Linked DNA regions of Homo sapiens: region 2 is linked to region 1. Evidence: promoter capture Hi-C in 16 types of primary human blood cells and fetal thymus (Javierre and others, 2016). All regions are on one chromosome and are shown on one strand. Each heading gives the region's core, a stretch centred on a gene start or on the middle of the fragment in contact. The rest is flanking DNA. Distances are from core to core; before and after follow the strand shown.

Evidence for each region. Contacts are between HindIII fragments. The CHiCAGO score rates a contact against its expected background, and 5 or more counts as called.
Region 2: a fragment that was not itself captured here is called in contact with the fragment with the promoter of COMMD8 in region 1 in 3 of 17 cell types (naive CD8 T cells, naive CD4 T cells and non-activated CD4 T cells); the score reaches 7.8 in naive CD8 T cells.

The regions. Positions count from the first base shown.
Region 1 is chr4:47,461,998-47,465,003 of GRCh38, forward strand. COMMD8 (COMM domain containing 8) reads right to left here and starts at 1,705. Exons shown (of 5, transcript NM_017845.5): 1 at 1,589-1,705. The coding sequence starts at 1,654. LOC107986277 (a long non-coding RNA gene) reads left to right here and starts at 1,886. Exons shown (of 3, transcript XR_001741683.3): 1 at 1,886-1,954. RefSeq lists a silencer at 1,436-1,695. The HindIII fragment of the contact is 2,743 bases long and covers 1,329-3,006 here.
Region 2 is chr4:44,681,029-44,684,084 of GRCh38, forward strand. GUF1 (GTP binding elongation factor GUF1) reads left to right here. Exons shown (of 17, transcript NM_021927.3): 4 at 95-175; 5 at 1,306-1,383; 6 at 2,207-2,290. Among named protein-coding and RNA genes, the nearest start is that of GUF1, 4.1 kb to the left of the region's middle. The HindIII fragment of the contact is 1,070 bases long and covers 1,052-2,121 here.

The sequences.
Region 1 (3,006 bases), core at 455-2,954:
AGAAGTGCATTTCTAGACACAAGCAAGTTATTTTGGGGGGTGCCTAGGGGGTGACAGGAGACAAGGCTGGAGAGGTGGGTGGAGCCAAATCAAAAAGGGCCTTGTGTACAAAGTAAAAGAGCCTAGACTTCAATCTGTGCTCAACCGGGAAGCAACCTATTCACACATTTGCATTATTTTTCCATATATTTGCTAACAGGTTGGAAGATGTAAGAGAGAGGGTGAGCCCAGATGCCTCAATTTTCAGTTAAGGAGTTAAAGATTAAGGGGCTTAAATTGTTGAGGACACTCAAAATGGAGGCAGTAAAGAGGTAGAAGAGATGTGAAAAGGGGGGGCCATGGATGAAACCTAGAACGTCAGGTTGAGAGGGGCTGGGTGAAAGTGGTGGTGCCACAAACCGAAAATGAGGCTACGGGAGGAGTAGGTCCAGGGGGAAAGAAGAGCTGAGGCAAGGGCATACTGAATTTGAGGTACCTGTGGCAGAAGCCTGACACTCAGGGAAGAGATTTTGGTTTGGGGTTTTTGGGGTTTTGTTTTGTTTTTTACCTGGCATTCTTGAACCATAGAGGAAGAAATTTTTGGCTGGACCTAAAGATTTAGAAGTCATCGACATATATGGTAATAAAGGTTATGGGCCTTATCTAAATGGGTAGAGTGAAGACAAGGAGAGCCAAAAGCCAATAAAACACTCAGAATCAACAGATCTGAGCATAAGTTCCAGCTCTGCCACTAACTGGATGGGCAATCCTGGGCAAGTTAGCCAAAATTTCTGCTGACATTTCAGGTTCCTCACTTGCAAAAACAAAGAAAAGAATTAGGTGTTTTTTTTTCTTGACCCTGGCAGGAGGTAAGTTCATTCCTTTCTGTCTCCTCCACACTTTCTCCAGTATAAATGGAATAGAGGAAACAGGAAGCCAAAATTGAGACTTATAAAAAAGATGCTCCACCAGGGCACAGGCTGTGTCTCACTCACCATTTACCTCATCCCATCGGGGCGCTCAATCTATGGTAGACTTCAATGAAAAACTGGCTGAACAAATGAATGTGGTTGCTTTTTCCAGATTCTTACAAGCCAGGTTCTTTTACAGACTGGAAGTCAATGGGTACATCACCTCTTGGGACGATCCTAACTAAAGTAACTCGCCCAGTTATTTCTCTTCCTACCAACCACCCTCAAGGGGGGAGGCAGGGTCCGCTTCGGTCTTTGTCACATTGTATTCCAGCACCTAGCTCTGTACCTGCTGTCCGGTAGGTAGGGAGCCTTTGGGAGGTTATGTGTTGAATGAATTAAGAAAACGTATACTAAGAGGCAGCAAACACCGACTTAAGCTTTCAAAGCCCAGTCTGGTGTGGGCGCTTCTGCGCGCAAAGCCCCTGGAGCTGCACCTCTAGGCTGGGGGTGGCGCCCCAAGCTGTCCTCCTAGGCTCCCCAGGGAAGGCGGGGACCAACCACCCGAAATCACGCCCCTTCCTCCTCCCTTCCCTAGGGAGCTTGCGAAGGCGTCCGGGTCGCACCCGGCCTGATCCGCACGCCGGGCTGTCGCGAATCCCAGGCCCCGCGCCGCTTCCCCCGGTACCCGCCCTCACCTGCGGGCCCAGCTCGGCCGGCAGCTTCTGCAGCCGCCACAAGGGCGTCCCCTCTTCCGGCTCCATCCCTGCGCGAAGCTGGGGCTTGGGTCACGTGTCAAGGCTGGCCGCTTGTCTAAAGCTACGACTCGCCCACGTGACTCTCGCCGGCGGGGAGGGGCGTGGACCCAAGAAGTCCCTGTGCGCTTGCGCAGAGACCGAACTACCGCTTTCCCCGTAACCAGGGAGACTGCAGTTTGCAGTGATGTGGCTAAGATACCCTTGTGCTATTAAAGGCACATTTACGTATCTTTCAACGCAGTTTGTACCTTTGTTTAGGGTTCTATTGAACTTTCTCTGTGCTCTTTAGAAAACCGTCGAATAAAGGTAACCATCTTTTTGGGTGCCTGGGCATGGTCATTGTCCCAGAGTTTTAACAGAAGTCTCTACTAAAGTATCCTGATTTGCAAGGTAAATTAAGGTTTTGCCATGAGCAACGTTCTGTATATAGATCATCCTAGGGAGAAGGTACTATTTTCAGCCCTATTTGCAGAAAGCAAACATGATTAGAGAAGTCACTAAGGTTGTCAGATTTAGCAAATGAAAATACCAAGCGTCCAGTTAAATGTGAAATTTCAGATAAACAATAATATTTTGTTGTAAGTATCCCCTAAATATTGTATGGGATATATTTATACTGAAAATTATTTGTCCATCTGAAATTCAAATTTAACTGGTGTCCTGTATTTTATCTGGCAACGCTAAAAATCACTGACCTAAGTAAGAGGCCCAGTCTGAAGTTAAACAAAATCAATCAGACTCAAGAGCCATGCTATTAATGTTGGACTAAGCTCAAAGTCCAAATATCCTTTCTGTTATTTCTTATTACAGCTGTTACTTTAATCAGGTGCTGAAGAATTCAGTGGTGGTAAAATGAGCATGTCCTGCAAAAGCGGATAATAATAACTAGTAGACCAGAAACAGGAATTACAATCTAATTTATAAATTTAATAATAAAAGTGGTGCAAAATGGTGAAGCAGAAGAGAAAGTATTCAATCTATGGGCTACGCAGAGAAAAACTACTCATTAGCAGCATTCTAGGTTTACCTCCTACGTCCTTTCTCTGTGTGCCTCAACTCTAAAAGGTGAAGTCAATTTCTTTCTCCCGTGAGTTTTCATGATATTTTAGCTGTCCCTCACTTATTTACCACTTTCTAGTTCTTAATGCAGATAGATGCACAACACTCATTGCCCTATCTTAAATGTAATTGTCTTAAGATACTTTGTGAATAGGAGCTCCCCTAGTAATAGTTAAAATGAGAAGTCTGGAAAACTACTTCACCTGAGTCTTTCTGTAAATCTAATGATGGGTAAGGTCTATTTTGAGAAAAAAACTTAAATTTTATGTATTATAATAATTGGGAGAAAAGTACTTTCA
Region 2 (3,056 bases), core at 337-2,836, 2.8 Mb before region 1:
CAGCTTTTATCAAGTAAAGTCAATAAATTTGCCATAATGCTCTTTCCTAAAAAATTAACTCACATTTACAGGTATCAATATTTTTGTTTCTCAGGGCCATGTTGATTTTAGTTATGAAGTATCCAGGTCACTTTCTGCTTGCCAGGGTGTTTTACTTGTGGTTGATGCAAATGAGGTAGGTATTTTTCATTTTGTATGATGTGATATGACATGACTATTTGGTTGTTTCAAGAGTTTTTCTTTAAAATGTGTTTTGGAAATAGAATTTTTGTGTTTGAAAAATAGATTTAATCTGTTACTTACTGAAAATCATATGGTTTCATCCTGTTAATCTGAAATATTATTACAATAAAGCATTCTCTGGAATTGACTAGTTTTTAAATTGGAATTGTTCAAAAGATTGTTGTATTTTTTTGAAGTGTGACATCATATTGTCAATGCATCTTACCAAAAAAACCCCACCAACTTTAGCAGTTCTTAATCTGAGGTTTCTATATCCATTTTTAGCAGATCTTAAGAATAAATCATTAGTTTTCAGATCATTTTAGGTGATTTTAAGGCAATAATTTGGAAGTATTAGGTTTTTAAAAAATCAGTAACATTACTAAGCTCTTTTGTTGTGTAAGCCGTAAAGACACTCAGCAGATGACCATGTAAGAGCTGTGAATATAAACTTTTGTTACATGTTTCTCACAAACTCTTCATTCAAAACCCAACTTTTTTTTAGTGGTGGTGGTGACCGTGTTGTGTTAAGCCGTTAAGCCTTTCCTGATCCCATCAAGGAAAGTCAATCTCTACCTTATGTAGGCAGTACTGGCCTTTATAAACTACCTTGATGACTGTGTTCTCTAATAAGCTTTGAGGTCCTTGAGAGTCCATGTTACATCTTTTGTTTCTCCAATGCCTGATGTAGTTTCTGGCACAGAAAAGGCCCTCCAATAAATGCTTTCTGAACTGAAAGGAATTATTACAGAGGATGATTCAGATGCATGGAAAAATAGGTATCATAGTTGAGCTGCCGTGTACCTTTCCTTAAAGGCTTCCTATCTCAAGCTTAGTAGACTGTCTGTTGGCTCACTCTACTTGATGTGATTATTGCTTTACCATCAGCGATTTTCATATTGACCCCAAAGACATAAGTTGGAGAGAAAAGCATGAAGGGTAGCTACATGGCATTTTGTTTAATTTTATTATTAGCATAACGCAAAATCTCTTGATGAAGATGTATAGAATGGTCTTAAATTACAAGTTTTGTGATATATAATAGAATGGTCATCTCAGTATCTTGTATCTTGATATTTTCAGGGAATTCAAGCCCAAACTGTAGCAAACTTCTTTCTTGCCTTCGAAGCACAGCTATCGGTAATTCCAGTTATAAATAAGGTAATTACAATGAGACAACAGTGTTGCTATTTCACTTTCTAAAAGTACAATTAATGTTTAAATGTCAGTTGTACTATTCATTATATGAGGGATCACCAGCTATTTATTAAATATATTGGTGGGATTTATCTCTTTGAATTGTATATAACAGAAGTGCAACTGAAACTCACCCTTGCACAGAATTGAGAAGGTAGTTCTCCTGAATTAACTTGTGGTAGCTGAGGGCCATTTCTGTAGGGAAGGGAAGCAGGGCAGATGAAACATGTTTGTCAGATTAAACCATACATAGGAAAAGAAGAGAAGTTTATAATCTAGGAAGAAACAATACAACACATGAAGCATGACAATTTAGTGCTAAACTGAGCTCTGTCTATAAACTTCCATTTCATATTTTAAAATTAATTTAGAATCTTAATTTTAAAATCTGCATTGCTTTAATTATATTTCTTGATAATGGAGTTAAGTTTAAAAGAAGGCCATAGGTAAGACAGCTTGTTGTCAGACTTAATGTTGTATTTAACTTAACCTTTAAAATCAGTTCACATGCTGCTTAATTGATAAATTACTACTGATCTCTTCTGCTGCCCTGGGTAGCTAACTGCTTAAGTTTTTTTTGCAAGCTCTGCTACTTAACTTCTCTTTTTCAATCATGGTTATTAAATTATACTGCTAATATATAGATTATTTTACTGCTTTTGAAAAAATATTGTAGAGGGGTCAGTTAGGTTAAAGTGGGTAAGCTTTTAATTACCTCCGAATACTGTTAATACATAATACATCTTATCTTTATTATACTTCACATAATGGATTTTTTTTTTTAAAGATAGATCTGAAGAATGCTGATCCTGAAAGGGTTGAAAACCAAATTGAGAAAGTGTTTGATATTCCAAGTGATGAATGTATTAAGGTAAAATACGTTCCTAAAAAGATTATACTTTGAAAAAAGTCTCAAGTAATTGGGCTAAGTGAAATTTCATGGTATTTGATAACCTGGCATTATATGCTGTTTTTTATAGTTTTACAAACTTCTTTTACTATTATTTCCTTTGATCCTTATCAAAAGCCCTTTTTATATTGTTAGGACATACAGAAATTATTGCGATGCTGTAGTTAAAGGAACTGAGGCTCAAAGGTTTTATCACTTTCCTAAGATCACAGGTTTAGTTAGCCAATGTGCCAGGACTAAAACACAGGCCTTCTGAAACTCCCTGCAGTATTTCTTGTGTGTCAGTTTGCCCAGTGGAAATACTGTCTTTGAAGAGCAGGTTCAAACTAATTTCAGGGCTTTTGTATGTATCATTCTTGGAACTGACAAAAACCTATTTTATAAAAAGCTAGTTGTAGTGCTAGGAAACAATAGATTTTATTTATACCAAAGTTGCTACCATTTTAAATTTGAATTTTTATTTACCTTTGAAATGATGATCTGCTTGTTAAACAGCCACAGCCAAACTGCTATACTACATGGTAGTGTAAAGTATGTCAGCACAGCAATGTAATGTTTTTCTTTCAAGCTAATTTAATTTTCAAAAGAGCAAGTTATATATGGTTTTATATTTTGGATTATGTTATATTAAAATACAATTAACTATTCTGATTTTAATCTTAATAAAATTCATTCAGATTCTTATTTGGTATATGCCAGCTAAGAGTATGGCAGTGAATAAGACAGA